4 separate regions of the Homo sapiens genome follow, and all the other regions are linked to region 2. Evidence: promoter capture Hi-C in 16 types of primary human blood cells and fetal thymus (Javierre and others, 2016). All regions are on one chromosome and are shown on one strand. The core of a region is centred on a gene start or on the middle of the fragment in contact, and the rest is flanking DNA. Distances in the headings are between cores, read along the strand shown. Region 1 overlaps CDK7 (cyclin dependent kinase 7). Region 2 holds the start of CCNB1 (cyclin B1). Region 3 overlaps CDK7 (cyclin dependent kinase 7). Region 4 overlaps CCDC125 (coiled-coil domain containing 125).

What was found. The method cuts DNA at HindIII sites, captures the fragments that hold promoters and counts their contacts. A CHiCAGO score of 5 or more calls a contact.
Region 1: a fragment that was not itself captured here is called in contact with the fragment with the promoter of CCNB1 in region 2 in 14 of 17 cell types (neutrophils, total CD8 T cells, naive CD8 T cells and 11 more); the score reaches 16.2 in neutrophils.
Region 3: a contact is called between a fragment that was not itself captured here and the fragment with the promoter of CCNB1 in region 2, in 12 of 17 cell types (non-activated CD4 T cells, monocytes, neutrophils and 9 more). The highest score is 8.1, in non-activated CD4 T cells.
Region 4: a contact is called between a fragment that was not itself captured here and the fragment with the promoter of CCNB1 in region 2, in 1 of 17 cell types (neutrophils). The highest score is 9.9, in neutrophils.

The regions. Positions count from the first base shown.
Region 1 is chr5:69,256,499-69,261,327 of GRCh38, reverse strand. It overlaps CDK7 (cyclin dependent kinase 7), which reads right to left. Exons shown (of 12, transcript NM_001799.4): 6 at 3,175-3,285; 7 at 1,392-1,510. Among named protein-coding and RNA genes, the nearest start is that of CDK7, 24 kb to the right of the region's middle. The HindIII fragment of the contact is 5,798 bases long and covers 1-4,829 here.
Region 2 is chr5:69,164,720-69,169,503 of GRCh38, reverse strand. CCNB1 (cyclin B1) reads right to left here and starts at 2,354. Exons shown (of 9, transcript NM_031966.4): 1 at 2,221-2,354; 2 at 1,426-1,596; 3 at 1,161-1,331. The coding sequence starts at 2,241. RefSeq lists enhancers at 2,099-2,328, 1,709-2,674. The HindIII fragment of the contact is 10,262 bases long and covers 1-4,784 here.
Region 3 is chr5:69,272,502-69,277,029 of GRCh38, reverse strand. CDK7 (cyclin dependent kinase 7) reads right to left here. Exons shown (of 12, transcript NM_001799.4): 10 at 3,989-4,138; 11 at 340-487. It also overlaps a transcript of CCDC125 not described here. Among named protein-coding and RNA genes, the nearest start is that of CDK7, 40 kb to the right of the region's middle. The HindIII fragment of the contact is 2,011 bases long and covers 1,466-3,476 here.
Region 4 is chr5:69,289,039-69,293,428 of GRCh38, reverse strand. It overlaps CCDC125 (coiled-coil domain containing 125), which reads left to right. Exons shown (of 12, transcript NM_176816.5): 10 at 1,067-1,241. Among named protein-coding and RNA genes, the nearest start is that of CCDC125, 42 kb to the left of the region's middle. The HindIII fragment of the contact is 2,059 bases long and covers 1,100-3,158 here.

The DNA of each region.
Region 1 (4,829 bases), core at 1,548-4,047, 91 kb before region 2:
AGAAACTGGTAGATGAGAAAGCTCTGTTAACAATGCTCTTGTACACAGGTCCCTGTTTCTATGAGTTCCTGAATGTTGAGCTTAACTGCTCTAGCAATTACATAAACAATTACTCACATCCCCTACTTCTTACTCAGGGCTTAGGTGATTTATACTCAGTGACATCTATTTGGAAGAAGGTGGCAAAATAATTTAAAATAGAGACTTTGGGGCCAGGCACAATGGCTCACACCTGTAATCCCAAAACTATTGGAGGCTGAGGTGGGAGGATCGCTTGAGTGCAGGACTTTGAGACCAGCCTGGGCAACATGGCGAAACCCATCTCTATAAAAACTTTAAAAAATTAGCCAGCCATGGTGGGGCGTGCCTGTGGCCCCAGATACTTGGAAGGCTGAGGTAGCACGATTGCTTGAACCCAAGAGGTCAAGGCAGCAGTGAGTACTGTTTGCACAACCGCACTTCAGCCTGGGCAACAGAGCGAGATCCTGTCTCAAAAAAGAAAAAGAAAAAATACAGAATTTGAAAATCTTTGCAGATCCTTAAAACGGTCTTGGAAATTAACAAAATGCCACTGGGACAAAAATTATAAAATCTATCATTCCTATTTAATGTGATTTTCTGTTTTTTCACATCAAAAATACAAATGGAAAATATAATTACCAATATGAAAAATTCAAATATCAAGACATTGCTCTGTTTAGAGAATTTTCATTTACATAGAAGGATACAGAATCAGCACTGACCAACATAATAAAAATGGGTCCAATAAATCAGATGATTAGGTAGAAGAATATCCACTGAAATTCTAGATTATCTAACTAAAATGTTAAAGTATAAATTGTTCCCATTTACAAGGTAAATGTCTTAGGATTAAGTTAGACTCTGTTTGAAAAGGGGCTATGTATTTTTTCATCGTGGTAAAGTATACCTAACATAAAAATGACAGGTTTTTTTTTTGTTTGTTTTTTGTTTTTCCCTGAGAGGGAGTCTTTCTCTGTCGCCCAGGCTGGAGTGCGGTGGTGCAATCTCTGCTCACTGCAACTTCTGCCTCTCTGGTTCAAGCAATTCTCCTGCCTCAGCCTCCTGAGTAGCTAGGATTACAGGCGTGCGCCACCATGCCCAGCTAATTCTTTTGTATTTTTAGTAGAGACGGGGTTTCACCATGTTGGCCAGGCTGGTCTCAAACTCCTGACCTCGTGGGTCTGCCTGCCTTGGCCTCCCAAAGTGCTGGGATTACAGGCATGAGTCACCGCGCCTGGCCAAATGGCAGTATTTTTTAAGACGGTATCTATCAACAATGATTCCTTAACTCTGCCAAGATAGTTCAGAGAAGCCAGTTGATGCTCATTTCTGATCAAACTCCTGCACATGTAGCTTTAAGAGATTCTTACCTGGTTACAACCTGATGTGTATAAGCTCTATTGGGGCTCCCAAAAGATTTGGCCAGGCCAAAATCTGCCAGTTTTAGAACTCCATTTTCATCTAGCAACAAGTTGTTTGGTTTCAGATCCTATATGACGGAAGTTTTAAACAAACAAATAAGCAGGGTAGGGGAGAACACTGTAGTGCTACATTTAGTTGGCATAACTTTAAACTTAGCAAAAACAAGGTAACACCTGAAATCTAAACAATCAATTTTTTTCCCACTGATATAAAATCCCATCAAAGCAAAATTGGATTGGTTATAATATATAACCTTGGTAAGGAACTTAATTTCACTAAGCCATAATTTACATACTTCATAGAGTTTCTGTGAGGATTAAATCTGATATTTTCTGTAGTCTAGTGTAATAACTGGCTCATAGTAGGCACTCAATAAATGGTTCCTACTATTAATAATAAATATGAACTTTCATAATATACGTTGTTAATGTATAAGAATGAGGATGACATTCTTCAAAATCCATGCTAAAAAGACATCAGCAATAACCTAAGAGGGATTCCAAACTTACGATATGAGAATTACTAGTTATAAATTATATATTCTTAGCTACTTATCTAAATAGCTAGGTAGCTAGCATCTACCTAGCTAAATTATCAGCTTTGTTCTAAAAGCTGAATGTTCCCACTATTTCATAAACTGTATTTTGTACCTTGAATTTTAGAGCTACAAGAAACATTACTTTTCTAGTATTTTGGCATTGTATGAGTTAATCCAAGACCATCTCTATATTTTTTTCCCCACAACAACATTGTAGCACAAAGAATACTGAACTTAAAGCCAAAAGACCTATGTTCTTTTTTTTTTTTTTGAGACAGGGTTTCACTCTGTCACCCAGACTAGAGTGCAGTGGTGAGGTCTCAGCTCACTGCAACCCCCACCTCCTGGGCTCAGGTGATCCCCCAACCTCAGCCTCCTGAGCAGCTGGGACTACAGGTGTGCACCACTGCACCCAGCTAATTTCTGTATTTTTTGTAGAGATGAGTTTTCACTATATTGCCCAGGCTGGTCTAGAACTCCTGGGCTCGAGATATCTACTTGCCTCAGCCTCCCAAAGTGCTGGCAACACAAAAGTGAGCCACCATGCCTGGGTCAAAACCTATGTTTTAATACTCTGTCCATTATCAGCAGCCAACCTTGAAAAAAAATATAACCATGGTCAGGTCACTTAGCAACTTAGCTCTTCATCTATTAAAAAATGAGGAGGCCGGGCGCAATGGCTCACGCCTGTAATCCCAGCACTTTGGGAGGCCAAGATGGGCAGATCACGAGGCCAGGAGATCGAGACCATTCTGGCTAACACGGTGAAACCCCGTCTCTACTAAAAAAATACAAAAAATTAGCTGGGCGTGGTGGCGGGCACCTGTGGTCCCAGCTACTCGGGAGGCTGAGGCAGGAGAATGGCATGAAACCAGGAGACGGAGCTTGCAGTGAGCAAGAGATCGCGCCACTGCACTCCAGCCTGGGTGACAGAGCAAGATTCCATCTCAAAAAAAAAAAAAAAAAAAAATGAGGGACTGGATCTCTTCCAGTTCTAAATTTCACAAAGTAATATGGAGTCCTTACAGCACCAACTGCTGGAACAAGTGAAGGGAATAATATATAGCAAAAAGATGGGATAAAACAGTCAGCTATAAATTCATTGTTAAACAATTTACATATTCAGACCACTATGTACCAAATTGGCTATATAAAACTTGACTAGTATAAAGAAGCAATATTAAAAACCTTACCCTATGTAGGATCCAATGTTGATGTAAATATTCTAATCCTTGAAGAGTCATCAACATGTAGGCTTTGATGTGTGATGGTGTCAGCACAAGACTATTATCCTTTATTATAACCTGTAAAGCAAGTATACAATATACAGGTACCCTTTATTATTTCAAATAAACTCTACCACATAAAACAATTTACAGACTTAAAATGTAAGTATCAATACAGGAGACTCTCAAAAGAGGTTATCTAAGTTTCCTCAGGAAGCCCTGTCAAAATCTCCAGAGTTAGATGGGTAGGGAGAGCATTTCTGGTTTGAAAAGAAAGCAGTGCTTTGTCCTCTACTGCTTTCGCATGAAAGTAGCAAACACCTGTTGTTTCTGCTTGCATCTTCTGACAATAGCAGTTAGTGTTCCTTTGGGAAGCCATCTCTTCTCAGCTTAGTCCACATGGTTAAGGTAGGACTGAGTCAACCTAAGGCCTCCAGAGGTAGGCACATGACCCAGGCATCCCCATTATCACACTGCAGTCTCCTGGCCAAGTGATTGGTTCAGGGATACAAGACAAGTCAATCAACCAGGCCAAGTACTTGTGCTAGAATCAAAGAAAAGAAAGCACTTTCGTTCCTCAGGTATTATTAAACTCTACAAACATATACCTAGAAGCATCTGGAACACCATATTGAGAACTGTACACATGAAGAATGCAACAGAGAAGAAAATGGAGCTTAGTTAAAGCGTAAGACTGAGTTTTGATGGCATTATTTATGAGCTGTGCCTAATGTCAGTTTATTCTAGATTTATCAGTTAGGAACTAAAAGTTCCCCTTTTCTTTTTTTAAAATCAGATTTAAGGTAAAGCATACCCTTTTTAGTGTATAGTTCCATGAGTTTTGACAAATGCATCCAGTCATGTAACCACCACTATAATCAAAGCATAGTTCCGTAACCTCCCCAAATTCCCTGAGGCCCCTCTGTACTTACTCCTTTCCTTTACCCCAAAGCCCCCATAACCGCTGATCTGGTTTCTGGTTCCTTTCATTTTGCCTTTTCCAGAATATCATATAAATGAAATGGTTCAATACATAGTCTTTTTAGCCTGGCTTCTTTCACTTAGTATAATGCATTTCAGATTCATCTATGTTGCTGCATTTATCAATAGTGTGTTTCTATTCCTGAGTAGTATTTCAGTTTGTTTGTACAGTTAGAATGAGGGATGTTTGGATTGTTCCAGTTTTGATAATTATTAATAAAGCCAAACATCTGTACCAACTGAATTCTGGCATACGTTTTTGTTTCTTTTTTTTTTCTTTTTTCGAGATGGGAATCTCACTCTGTCACCCAGGATGGAGTGCAATGGTGCAATCCATAGCCTAGTGGTGAGTCCATAGCCTATTATGATAGGTCCTTCCAGGATCAATACCATTAGTATTGTGATCTATAACAGCATCACTAATATTGTGATCGATACCACTAATCAATAATCTTGTGATCTAGCAATACCACTGCTAGGTATTTATCTAAAAGAAAGAGGCCGGGCATGGTGGCTCACGCTTATAATCCCAGCACTTTGGGAGGCTCAGGCAGGTAGATCGCCAGAGGTCAAGAGTTTGAAACCATCCCGTCCAACATAGTGAAACCCCATCTCTATTTTAGCTGGGCATGGTGATGGGC
Region 2 (4,784 bases), core at 1,105-3,604:
AATCAGTATGGGCCTTCCAAGAAAGCCTCACGTAGTTTGATATGCCCAAAGACTGTGCTGGCTACATATTTCATGTGCTATGCCCAGAAATTCAACACTAAAGCAATAGCTTTCAATCTCTTATCCTTAGATATAAGAAGCTGAACTGGCTGGGCGCCGTGGCTAACGCCTGTAATCCCAGCACTTTCGGAGGCCGAGGCGGGCGGATCATGAGGTCAGGAGTACACTAACATGGTGAAACCCCATCTATACTAAAAATATGAAAATTAGCTGGGCGTGGTGGCGTGCGTCTGTAATCCCAGCTACTAGGGAGGCTGAGGCAGGAAAATTGCTTGAACCTGGGAGGCAGAGGTTGCAGTGAGCCAAGATCACGCCACTGCACTCCAGCCTGGGCAACAGAGCCAGACTCTGTCTCAACAAGTTTTTTTCAGATAATTTTCCCAACTGGTTTTAACTAAGTTTAAAAAAACAGAGCTTCAGAATACAGTTCATTGCAATTTCATCAAAGCAGCCTCCTCTACATGACCTACCTTTCCTTCACAGGTAGGTCTATCATAGAATACATTTACATACCTTATATTTAATAAAAAGTTATTATTTTTGAGGCTAAGTGTTAATTCATCTTCTTAACCACTCCCTGAAAAGTTGCCTTCTTCCTGTTTTACTCCTTTGCATATTCCAATGTTACAGGCTTATTATTTAGTAGCCATATGCAGCAGTAAAAAAATTCAAGAGAACATTCTATGTTTACGCCAATAAATTCTGCAGAGATGGCTTGTAGTTGGATAACAAAGCCTTTGGCTCAGACAGCTACTACTTAATATCATTAACGAAGGAATATAAGACAGTTGACAATTAAAAGCATAGATTCTGAAGCCAGACAGCCTGAGCTTGAATCCCATATGGGCCACTTACCTGTGTGACCCTGACATAACCTCTCTAAAGCCATGATTTAAATAGTAGAGGTGACAATACCTCAGAGAGTACGTGTAAAGATTATGTGAGTTAATGCATGTAAAATGTTAGGCAGAGCTTGCCTCATGCTAAGCACTCAATAAATGGTATTAATATTACTATTCATTTGAATGCTCTTGCATGTATCAGTGAAATAAGGGACAAGAAATAATCAACAGACTCTACAATGGTAAGAATAAGTTTACCAAAATAGGCTCAGGCGAAAGTTTTTCTTCTTTAACAGGCTCAGGTTCTGGCTCAGGTTCTGGCTCTGGCACTGGCTCAGACACTGGCACTGGCACCAGCATAGGTACCTTTTCAAGAGGTTTTGGTAGTTTTTTATCAATGACTTTTCCAGTAGCTGAAGGTTTTGCTTCCTGTAGATGAAACAGAGAGAATGAAATGTTTCTGCATCAAAGGCCACAGTTGGAAGGCGGGCTCTTACAGAAGTTAGGTCAGGAAGAGAGTTACCTTCTTCATAGGCATTTTGGCCTGCAGTTGTTCACTGACTTTGTTACCAATGTCCCCAAGAGCTGTTCTTGGCCTCAGTCCGGGCTTGGAGGTTGCAGCAGGGGCCGTAGGAACGCGCTTTGCGCCTGCCATGTTGATCTTCGCCTTATTTTCAGCATTAATTTTCGAGTTCTGAAAGAAGCAAGACCACTTTAAGAGCTGATCCACGAAGGCTCGAGTAAGTCAAGGGTTAATTAAGGTGGGGCACAAGGAGAAGTTCCCAGAAAGAAAGCCGACTAAAAATGGGTTCCGAGGGAAAACATGGGTCCCAGAGTCTACTCTGCGGCCGTGACAAGTCAGTTTCCGCCGACCTCTACATTTACCAATTGAGGGATTCCCTGATTAGTCCTGGCCAGCCCTAAAATACCGAGAATTTACATTTGAAAGGAAACCGAAAAAGCCTCCAATTGCAGACACCTTCTCTCTGGGAAGGGGGTTACAGAGTTGCTGGCGGGCCCACTCAGGGACCCTCTATCACTTTTTCAAAAGGTTCCCAGTCGACTCTCCACCTCCCCAAAACATTTATCCAATATCCGTCCAGTTCTCTTTCTCACCTTCCTCCCTCCATCCATCGTCCCCCACACTCTCTCACCAGGCCTGGGCCCACCTCGGCGCTCTCTTGGTGAGTCCCCTCCCACCTTCCTCCCCAAATCGCTCCTGCGGCCCTCTCCCGCTCGGGAGGCTCCCGCAGGCGAGGCAGGGAGAGCAGGCAGCAGCTAAGAAGGCCGCGTTAGTTCGCAGTCCGAAGCGGCTCACCCTGGTGACTCGGAGCGCCATGGCTTCCTCTTCACCAGGCAGCAGCTCAGCGGGGAGAAGCAGAACACCGGAGGCCCGACCAGCCAAGGACCTACACCCAGCAGAAACCAACAGCCGTTCCGCCGCAGCACGCCGAGAAGAGCCAGCCTAGCCTCAGATTTAAACCCCGCACTGCTCCCTCCTTATTGGCCTGTTCGTGGCACTCACTCCCTTCCCATTGGCGGCTGCCGGTCGCAGAGAATGCGTTTCCAGGGCGATCGCGCGAAGGCGTTCGAGAGGGGCGGGGCCACAGTGAGGCTAGGCCGGAAGGCCTGGCCAGGCTCTCACGTGGTCTGCCTCTGCGCCTGCGCTCTCGGGCAGCTGCAGCGGCCACCTGGAGAGCAGTGAAGCCAGTGCGCCGCCCACCTGGAAAGGTTAGCCGGGCAAGAGTGTGCGTTGCCAATGCCAGCTCAGGAAAGGCCTAGTGGCCTTTGGAAGGTGACAGAGGCGCGGCCACAGTCTCAGAAGTGTCAAAAGTAGTTTTGGATCTAGTGTTGCACACTTTCCATTTCTACGGTAGCAGCAATAATATAGTTCATGAAAGGCTTTAATAGACATTCTTTCATTTGATCGTTGCAACAACTCTCTGGGTTGGAGGAACTGAAGCTCAGCGACTTAGATGACTTTGCCAGGGTCACACATTAGCAACGGGGGAACTGAATTTAGGGTTTTTTTTTTTGAGGGGGAGGGAGGGGGTGTATCCGTGTTGTTTTCACAACACTGATTGTCCCTTAACAATATTACTTGATTACTTCAAGATTGTCCAGTTTCCCAAGGCCAATTGTTTTGTTTGTTTTAGCTTTCTATTTGGAAATAATTTCATACTTAGACCAGTTGCCAACAAAAATCTTGTAAGGAATATTTCTATGCCCTTTACTCAGATTCAACTATCCTTAACATGTATTTGCCTCTCATGGGAAAATCAGGAAAAACTAAACAAAAAGACATTTTACCCCATTTGCTTTGTCATTTGCTCAGATTCTCTCTAGATCCAAAGAAAAACAAGAGGGTTCTTTTTGCCTTCTACTCCTCAAAACACACCAGCAGCTCAGCAATTGGAGGGGAGGCTGAAGGACAAAAACATTGCTATCCCATAGAGCAACGGTATAAGAGCCAATAGAGACTCCTGGCGCTGGAAGTCACGGATCCGAAAGAAGGCGCCCAATCATTTGGTTTCTTTGGATCGTTATTGAGTCTTCTGTCATCATAGTTCACCCTCCTACTCGAATGCCTCCCGTGGGGCCCTTACCCTTGCTCTCCTCTGCCTGGAATGCCCGCCTCTTCTTGCATTCAAGCCCCTGGGTTCTATTCAGGTAACTCCCATTCATCCTTCAGTTCTGTGTTCAACATCCATTCTCACTCAGTCTTTCTGGGTTTGATCAATCCTTCCTCGCCCCATGCAGGGGCGAGAGGCAAGGGGCGAAGCAGGATTACTTATCCTCTGTGTTCCAGTTTAAAAATTTTTTTTTTTACTTTTTTTTGAGACGGAGTCTCGATCTGTCGCCCAGGCTGGAGTGCAGTGGTGCGATCTCGACTCACTGCAACCTCCACCTCCAGGGTTCACTCCATTCTCCTGCCTCAGCCTCCCGAGTAGCTGGGACGGCAGGCGCCCGCCACAACGGCCGGCTAATTTTTTGTATTTTTGGTAGAGACGGGGTTTCACCATGTTAGCCAGGATGGTCTCGATCTCCTGACTTGGTGATCCGCCCGCCTCGGCCTCCCAAAGTGCTGCGATTACAGGCGTGAGCCACCACGCCCGGCCAAATTTTTCCTTTTATATGCTTTATTTTTTAGAGCAGTTTTAGGTTCGCAGCAAAACTTAGCAGAAAGTATAGAGCATTTCACCTGCCTTCCCCACTATTGACACCCCACATTAAAGTTGTACTTTAATTATAATCTGTTAACCTACATTGACACCACAGTATTACCCAAAGTCCATAGTTTACATTAAGGTTCACTCTAGGTGTTGTGTCTTCTACGGGTTTTGACAAATATATAATGACGTATAATGTCCACCCGCCTCAACCTCCCAAAGTGCTGGTATTGAAGGCGTGAGCCACTGCACCTGGCGGTCAGAATGGTTTCTTTTACTCAAATATGCATTTAAGGTTCTTCCATGTTTTTTTCATGGGTTGGGATCTCATTTTATTTTAGCCCTGAATAATATTGCATTGTCTGGATGTACTAGTTTATTTATTCAGTCACCTACTAAGTGACATCTTGATTGCGTCCAAGTTTTGGTATGAATATAACTGCTACTAACATCTGTGTGCAGATTTTTGAGTGGACGTAAGTTGTTTTTGTTTTTCGTTTGTTTGTTTGTTTTTTGAGACGGAGTCTTGCTTTGTTGCCCAGGCTGGAGTGCGGTGGCGCCATCTAGGCTCACTGCAAGCTCCGCCTCCCGGGTTCACGCCATTCTCCTGCCTCAGCCTCCCAAGTAGCTGGGACTATAGGCGCCCGCCACCAGGCCTGGCTAATTTTTTGTATTTTTAGTACAGACGAGGTTTCACCATGTTAGCCAGGAT
Region 3 (4,528 bases), core at 1,222-3,721, 110 kb before region 2:
AGTCACTGCATTCCAACTACATTATTTCACTGACACATTTTTTCCAGTAGCACTTGTTAAACATTTAGCATGTAGTTTACAGAAGGAATTTATGAAGGGAACAAGGTACACATACATAGTTCCCATAATTCTGAGGTATACACAAAAGCTGCCGAAGTATTCACAATGAAAGTAAACATACCTAAAACGGCACAGTCTCTCTACTTTATACAATTAAATTTATAAAAATTAAATAGCTAGCAAGCTACATTTCTTTGCTGTTGTTCAGTCGCTAGCCATACACGAGCTATTTGGAGTTTTCTAAATTCATTTAATTTCTTTTAAAAGTGGGAATCTTACCTTGTTCTAAGGCCTCTGTTCTTTTCCTTTTTATTGCCAAAGCTGGATTTGATTGCTCCTTTAAGGTTTCCACTGGACAGTTTGGTCTTGGCAGCTGACATCCAGGTGTTGGCCCTGGCCGATTACTGAAATACTTCATTTTCAGTGCCTTTTAAAAGAAAAGATACCAAAAGTAAGGTAGGTGAGTATCTGAAATGTGTTAAGGAAAATCTTACCTTCAAGATTATAGGGAGCATTAAAAATACTATGTGAATGCCCTCATTCCCAACAAAACAAAATTAATGTCAAGTATTTGCAAATGGAAATTACTACAAATAAATACCTAGGATCCTAAGATTGGCTGATAATTCCATTAAAAGACTGGCCGGGCACAGTAGCTCATGCCTGTAATCCCAGCACCTTGGGAGGCTGAGGCGGGTGGATCACATGAGGTCAGAAGTTCGAGATCAGCTTGGCCAACGTGGCGAAACTCCATCTCTACTAAAAATACAAAAATAAGCTGGGCGTGGTGGTGCATGTCTGTAGTCCCCACTACTCGGGAGGCTGAGGTAGGAGAATCGCTTGAACCCAGAGGCAGAGGTTGCAGTGAGCCGAGATCGCACCACTGCACTCCAGCCTGGGCGACAGAGCAAGGCTCCGTATCAAAAAAAGAAAAGAAAAAAAGACTCCCTTCTAATTTTTCCATAATTAAATAGCCTATACAGGCTGAATATATCTTATCTAAAATGCTTGGGACCAGAAGTGCTTCAGATTTTGGACTGTGGAATATTTGCATATACATGACGTACCTTGGGGATGGAAGCCAAGATTAAAAATGAAACTTATGTTTCATATACAGCTTATACATATAAACTGAAGGTAATTTTACACTTATTTTTTGTGGAGAATGGGGTCTTGCTATATTGGCCAGGCTTGTCTTGAACTCCTGGGCTCAAGCTATCCTCCCGCCTCCGCCTCCCTAAGAGCTAGGATTACAGGCGTGAGCCACCGCGCCTGGCTGAAGGTAATTTTATAAAATATTTTTAATTTGACAAAATTTTTAATTTTGTACATAAAACAAAGTTTTGTTAATGTCCTTATGTGTAGAATTTTCCACTTGTGGCATCACGTCATCATTCAAAAAGCTTTGGATTTTGGAGCATTTCAGATTTCGGATATTTGGATTAAGGATGCTCAACCTATACTAATTATGAGCTATCCTTAGTGAAATATTGTACATTTCCATTCTCTACATATTGAACTCTACAGTTCAAAATGCAAAGAGAGAAACTTAAAAAGAACTTACAAGTTGGCCACACTATCCATATATATTCAAATTCCAAGTCATGTAAAATATAAATTCTTAAAAAATAAGGCTTTTTAAAAAATACAGTAGGTTGGAACCAATGGATTCTAATTCAACAATCCATTGCAAATGGACAGAAATTTTACTTGGAAGGGCTTCTCCAAGATTATTTCTATTAATTACCAGGCCAATGTTCTATAATACATTTTCTCTTTTTTTCCCCCTACTATAGTGCTGTAGATACAATACATTTTCTTGACTTGGGTCCACAATTCTGATAAAAATAATTATATCCTAAATGACAAGTTTGTCAGGTCATGCTTGTCTTTTTTTTTTTTTTTGGATACAGAGTCTCACCCTGTTGCCCAGGCTGGAGTGCAGTGGCACAATCTTGGCTCACTGCAACCTCCACCTCCCGGGTTCACATGCTTGTCTATTTACATCAGCAGCATAGTGCTGTCCAGTGGCTACAATGATTTAAAATACTTCTGGCAGGGCGGGGTGGCTCATGCCTGTAATCCCAGCACTTTGGGAGGCCGAGGCAGATGGATCACCTGAGGTCAGGAGTTCGAGATCAGCCTCGATAACATGGTGAAACCCTGTCTCTACTAAAAATCCAAAAATTAGCCAGGCATGGTGGTGTGCACCTGTAATCCCAGCTACTAGGGAGGCTGAGACAGGAGAATCGCTTGTACCTGGGAGGTAGAGGTTGCAGTGAGTCAAGATCGTGCCACTGCACTCCAGCCTGGGTGACAGAGCAAGACTTCGTCTCAAAAATAAATAAATAAATACTTCCTTTAGGATAATCCTTTAAGAAAGATGAAGCCCATATAAACTTTGCAAGCATTCCTCACCACTCCCAATATTATTTGCAGTAATTTAGAGATTCCTTACTTCAACAGTTGCATTTTCATTTTTTATTTATTTACTTTTTGTAGAGATGATGTTTTGTCATGTTGCCCAGGCTGGGCTCCAACTCCTGGGCTCAAGCTATCCTTGCTCCTTCACCTCCCAAAGTGCTGGGATTACAGGTGTGAGCCGATGCACCGGCCTACAGCTGCATTTTTAAAGCATTACTTCTAAATCACAGCAGTTCTATATGCAAATTAGGCTAATTCTGGGCTAAAGATCTAAGAAAATACCTCATTCCAACTTTAATAAAGACATCCATGAAACAAAACTCACTTTAAAAACTTCATTCTATTAAAATACAACCCAAATACAACAACTAGTATTTTTCTGTTAAGTTTCAAACTATACTACCAATGAAAACAACTTTCTAGATAATTAAATGTGGTCTCAAGTTTATTATGATGGAAATAATATACATAGAAGTATGAGTGAAAAGGCAACAAATTACTTGTTTGAAATTAAAAGAGTATGTGTACACATGGACATAAAAATAATAAAGAAAAATTTTTTAAAAAAGAAATTAGGAGAATAATTCTAATGGTAAATACCCAGCATATACCTACCTACCTATCCATCTATATCTATCTATCCTTCCATCCATCCATCCATCTCCATATATATTCACATAGCACACATTGCTAAAAAGAGAAGGCTTATACAAGCAAGTGCATTAAACAATGATTTTGTAGCCTGGAACAAACCTAAAGAGAAAAAAATCTATTTTGTATGCTTAATATTACTGTACATTAATATGTTTCCATAAAGACCTGTGATCTCACTTTCATTAGTCTCTCCCTTCATGAGGTAAAATCACTGCACTGTGTTGTACAGTGCTCTGCCCTAAGTTATTCTAGGTCTTCCAAATTTTTCATGAGTTTGTTATTTCCTTTAAACAGCAGTTAGTTTCAGTTTTTGTTTTATTTCAAATATTTTTCAAGCTTTTGTAAGCATACAATTATATCTGACTATACCATTTCCTCCCCATTACCATGTTCTCAATGTGAGAATGATCAGCATGCATACCTGGATTGCATTATATAGGAAAGAAAAAATAAGCCGAACAAACTACTTTCAGCATTGCTACAAGATTTAAATGAATTTGTAAGAGCTCAACTGAAATATACCAGTTTCTTAACAAATAAAAAGCCTTGGTTTTCTTTTTCTAAGTAAAGTATTTACAAGCCAATTATGTGAAATAGACATGTATTTAAATGTCCCTAAGCAAGTGTAATAAGTGTAAACTCTCCTGTATCTCTGTGTGCATATAATTTAATCTCAGTCTTAATAGTGTTTGTAGTTTGGGGAAAAGATACAAAGTTTGTTATTTCTTAAAACAAAAACACATCTTTCCAGTATTTAAAAAATGTTAATTTTATGAAATTCTATTTTTATCAATGCTACAGTTAAGATTATTTTTATATTTCCTAGTATAAAAAAGATACACCAAAATACCTGTGTGGCCGTAATTCGAGCACATGGATTAAATAAGAATAAGCCTTGTATGAGATCTAGTAAGTCGTCTCCTGCTGCACTGAAGATGTGATGCAAAGGTATTCCAGGGAAACTCTTAAATGTCACATAATCTGGAAGACTACACATGTCCTGTAAAAATAATTTTGTAATTCAAACTTAAGGATTAAAGGCATATAGATTGCAAATGAAATAAATCATTTTCAGGTGATATGATGGTTTATATAGAAAATTCCAAGAAATCTATTAAAAAGTCCTAGAACTAGTAGTAAGACAAGGCTGAAAAGGATATAAATTGAAAATTTAAAAATCAATTGTAATTTTGTACACTAGCAATAAATATGTGGACATCAAAATTAAAAACACAGTACTATTTATAATCACCCCAAAAAGAAAAATGAAACAGGTGAAAAATGTAACAAAACATGTATAGGGTAATATACTATAAGCTATACAATGCTGATGAAAGTCATCAAAAGATCTCAATAAATGGTGAAACATATCGTGTTCACATATTGGAAT
Region 4 (4,390 bases), core at 880-3,379, 120 kb before region 2:
CCACCCGCCTTGGCCCCCCAAAGTGCTGGGATTACAGGCGTGAGCCACTGAGCCCAGCCAAAATAAAATCTTTAAAGTATATAGGAAAGCCAACATTTGGACAGTAGCCATTCATTAAGAAAAGCATGAGGGGGCAATGGGTTACACCTGTAATCTCAGCACTTTGGGAGGCTGAGGTGGGAGAATCACTTGAGCCTAAGACGTCACAGTTACAGTGAGCCGTGTTCACATCACTGCACTCTAGCCTGGGTGACAGAGTGAGAGACCCTGTCTCCAAAACAAAAAGAAAGACCGGGCGCAGTGGCTCATGCCTGTAAACCAGCACTTTGGGAGGCCGAGGCGGGTGGATTACCTGAGCTCAGGAGTTCGAGACCAGCCTGGGCAACACAGTGAAACCCCATCTCTACTAAAATACAAAAAATTAGCCAGGCGTGGCAACATGCGCCTATAGTCCCAGCTACTCGAGAGGCAGAGGCAGGAGAATTGCTTGAACCCAGGAGGCGGAGCTTGCAGTGAGCCGAGATCACGACACTGCACTCCAGCCTGGGCGACAGAGCGAGACTCCATCAAAAGAAAAAAAAAAAAGAAGAAGAAGAAAAAAATAGAAGAAAAGAAAAACATGAGATTACATTGATCAAAGTCAAGGTCATCTATAAGACGTATTTGAAAGGTCGTATTCATCATTATTTTCAGTGGTGTGGTCTGGAATGGCCCAAAGCTGAGTTGAAATGCAGCCTTTGGTATCCTCTTATCTTTCATGCTGGGCCCTTTGTCCCAGGACTTGAGCAGGACACACACACAGGGCCTGCATGGGGTAGTGAGGTCCAGGGGTTAGGTTAGCAGGCAGTTGACAGGCACCACAAGGGAAACTGATAATCTGGATCAGAGTAAGTTGCTACTGCAGAAATAGCAAGCATTAATTAGCGTAATCAGATAAACTAGATCAGACCACAGGCAATAAACCAGTGCTAGGCAGTGAGATTGCATATGTTAATTTGATTCCCCATTCAGCAAGAATTGTTCTGGTTTTGCCTCTGACACCTCCCAAACTGTCTTTCAAAATCAGTTGGAAATTTTGCAGAAGAGTAAAGAAGAAGCTTACGTGATGGCAGATGCTTTCAGAATTGCATTTGAGCAACAATTAATGAGAAAAAATGACCAGGCACTACAATTGACACAAATGGATAAAATGCATAAAAAAGCAACAAAATGGATGAATTGGAAGCACCTTAAAGAGGATGGTAACTATGAATTATAATGGCAATAAGTGGGTGTAATTTTAGTTGTTTTGTTTATAATCCAAGTTGATGAAGCACACTTAATCCAATGTGGGCAAAAATAATTGAAACTTCACATATGGTTGTGGTTTACTTAAAAACTTAGCAACTATGGAAAAAAAGGAGTCATTGGATATTACATGTGCAGGTGAACTACTGGAATCCATAAACCATAACATAACAGGAATATTTATTTTCTAGTACTCTTCTGTTTCATTTAAATAAGACCATGTTTAGTGAAAAAACTTTACAATAAAAGTGCTAGGTGATTAAAAGGAAACTGCCAAGAAGGAAGTAATGTGAAAAATGTCACTTAAACATGACATTAAATGTATCTATCTAATTAAACTTTATTGAAATGTATGCTTTTGAGAAGGAAATTGAGGAATAGAGGAAAAACCTTAAGTTGGACAAATTAATAAAATATTCTTAGAAAAAATGAAGCAGAAGTTTAGGTTTAGGTTTTGGTTCACGAACCCATCAAAAATTTATGGCCAGGCTGGGTGTGGTGGCTCACGCCTGTAATCCTAGCACTTTGAGAGGCCAAGGAGGGTGGATCACCTGAGGTCAGGAGTTCGAGAACAGCCTGGCCAACATGGCAAAACCCCATCTCTACTAAAAACACAAAAATTAGCCGGGCGTGGTAGCACATGCCTGTAATACCACCTGCTCAGGAGGCTGAGGCAGAAGAATCGCTTGAACCCAGGAGGCAGAGGTTGCAGTGAGCTGAGATCGCGCCACTGCACTGGGCGACGGAATGAGACTCCATCTCAAAAAAAAAAAAATGATCAGTATTGAGTATTATTATATCTGTGTATTAAAAAATATATTAAAATAGCATGAGAGAATTGAAGTAGATCTTCCAGTATGAACAAAGTAGCTGTTATTTTTTAGAAATCTGTTTCTCTAAGTAGTTCATACCAATTTTTATTCATCAGTATTATTCTGTAGAATTCATATTGCTTCAGTTTAAAATGTCAAATTATAATTTGAAACCATTTATCAGTTGAGAAAGAATCAAGTGAAGTTTATAAGAATTTTAAATGTTTTGTAGAAAAATTCTAGGATGACTGTATTTCTAAATATTTTCTTATCTGTCAGATCTATAATTCTAACATCTCTTATATTCAGGTGAATTTAGAAAGACTAATACACATCTTGTAATATTTAAAATGATCTTAGGGGAACACCATCATAGAAAATATTTAAAATGGAACCTGTTGGCTGGGCGTCGTGGCTCATGCCTGTAATCCCAGCACTTTGGGAGGCCGAGGTGGGTGGATCATTTGAGGTCAGGAGTTTGAGACCAGCCTGGCCAACATGGTGAAACCCTGCCTCTACTAAAAATACAAAAATTAGCCGGGCTTGGTCGCAGGCGCCTGTAGTCCCAGCTACTTGGGAGGCTGAGGCAGGAGAATTGCTTGAACCTGGGAAGTGGAGGTTGCAGTGAGCCAAGATTGCACTACTGCACTCCAGCCTGGGGGAAAGAGCAAGACTGTCTCAAACAAAAAAAAAAAAAAAAGAAAAAAAAGAAAAAAAAAAGAAACCTGGCCATGTGCGGTGGCTCAGGCCTGTAATCCCAGCACTTTGGCAGGCTGAGGCAGGCAGATCACCTGAGGTCAGGAGTTCAAGACCAGCCTGGCCAACATTGAGAAACCCCATCTCTACTAAAAATACAAAAATTAGCTGGGTGTGATGGCACTCACCTGTAATCCCAGCTACTCGGGAAGCTGAGGCAGGAGAATCGCTTGAACCTGGAAGGCAGAGGTTGCAGTGAGCCAAGATTGCGCCACTGTACTCTAGCCTGGGTGACAGAGCAAGACTCTGTCTCAAAATAATAATAATAATAGTAATAATAATAATAATAATAAAATGAAAGCTTTATAGTAGATAGCCATTTTGTTTGAAATATTTATTTTCAAACAGTATATATTACTAATAGTATAGGAGTCAGCTGTCGTGAATTTTAGTTTCATTAACTAAGCTTTCCCCCTTTTCTTTGCTGAAAAGGGTAAGAAGTGATGCAGAGGGATGATAGAAATAGAAGCAGTAAATCAGAACTACAGAGTAGGGAAATGCAGATCATAGAAGCTACATGTTTGGAGTGTTCATTAGATGGAAGCCAGGACAAAACAGGAAAATATAATGTTTTGTAACACTTATTCTGAGAAAGTCATTCATATTTTCTTGAAATTAATTTCTAAAAATGTTTTCTGACACGAAACTTTTGAGAAAATATAATGGCTAAATTCCCGACAGTGTTTTAGTAGCTTTTTTTTTTTTTTTTTTGAGGCAGCATCTTATCCTGTTGCCCAGGCTGGAGTGCAGTGGTGTGATCATGACTCACTGCAGCCTCTACCTCATGGGCTCAAGCAATCCTCCCACCTCAGCCTCCCTAGCAGCTGGGACTTCAGGCATGTGCCACCATGCCAGGCTAAATTTTGTATTTGTTTATAGAGATGAGGTCTCACTGTGTTACCCAGGCTGGTCTCAAACTCCTGGGCTCAAGCGGTCCTCCCTCCTCGGCCTCCCAAAATGCTGTGGTTACAGATGTGATCCACTGCACCTGGCCAACAATGTCTTATAATAAATACAAAATAATGTATTTAGATAATATGGTCATTTTCTATAATAAACTCTTCATAAAAGCTGAAGGTACAACTTTAATGTTCAATCCAGGTTAGGTGATTTTGCCAGGGAAAAAGCTAACATGGTCCATGTATTTAGCCTTTTAGGAACCAGTGGAAAACACTAAGAATACCTGGTTCTACCACGGACCACAGCTATGTGTAGATAATCTTCCTCAGACACCTCCTCTCTCAGCTAAGCCCTTAATAGCAGTTGGATTGTAAAATCCTCTTTGAGGACAGCCCTGGTGTTTTGTGCTAATTGAAGGCAGATCTTCTTAGAAAGTCAGATTGTAAATATTTGTTTGTTTTGATAGAGGTGGAAAGAAAAGTGATGGGAAAAAGAAGAGACGAAGGGGAAAGTCAGGGTTAAAGTAATCTTAATCTTACGAATGCCTGTCAGACCCTGTCACCTGCCTGCAAGGCCTGCAACCCTGTGTGGAGCTTGGCCATTAGGATAGTGCAGTGTAGACAAAGCTGCATTTT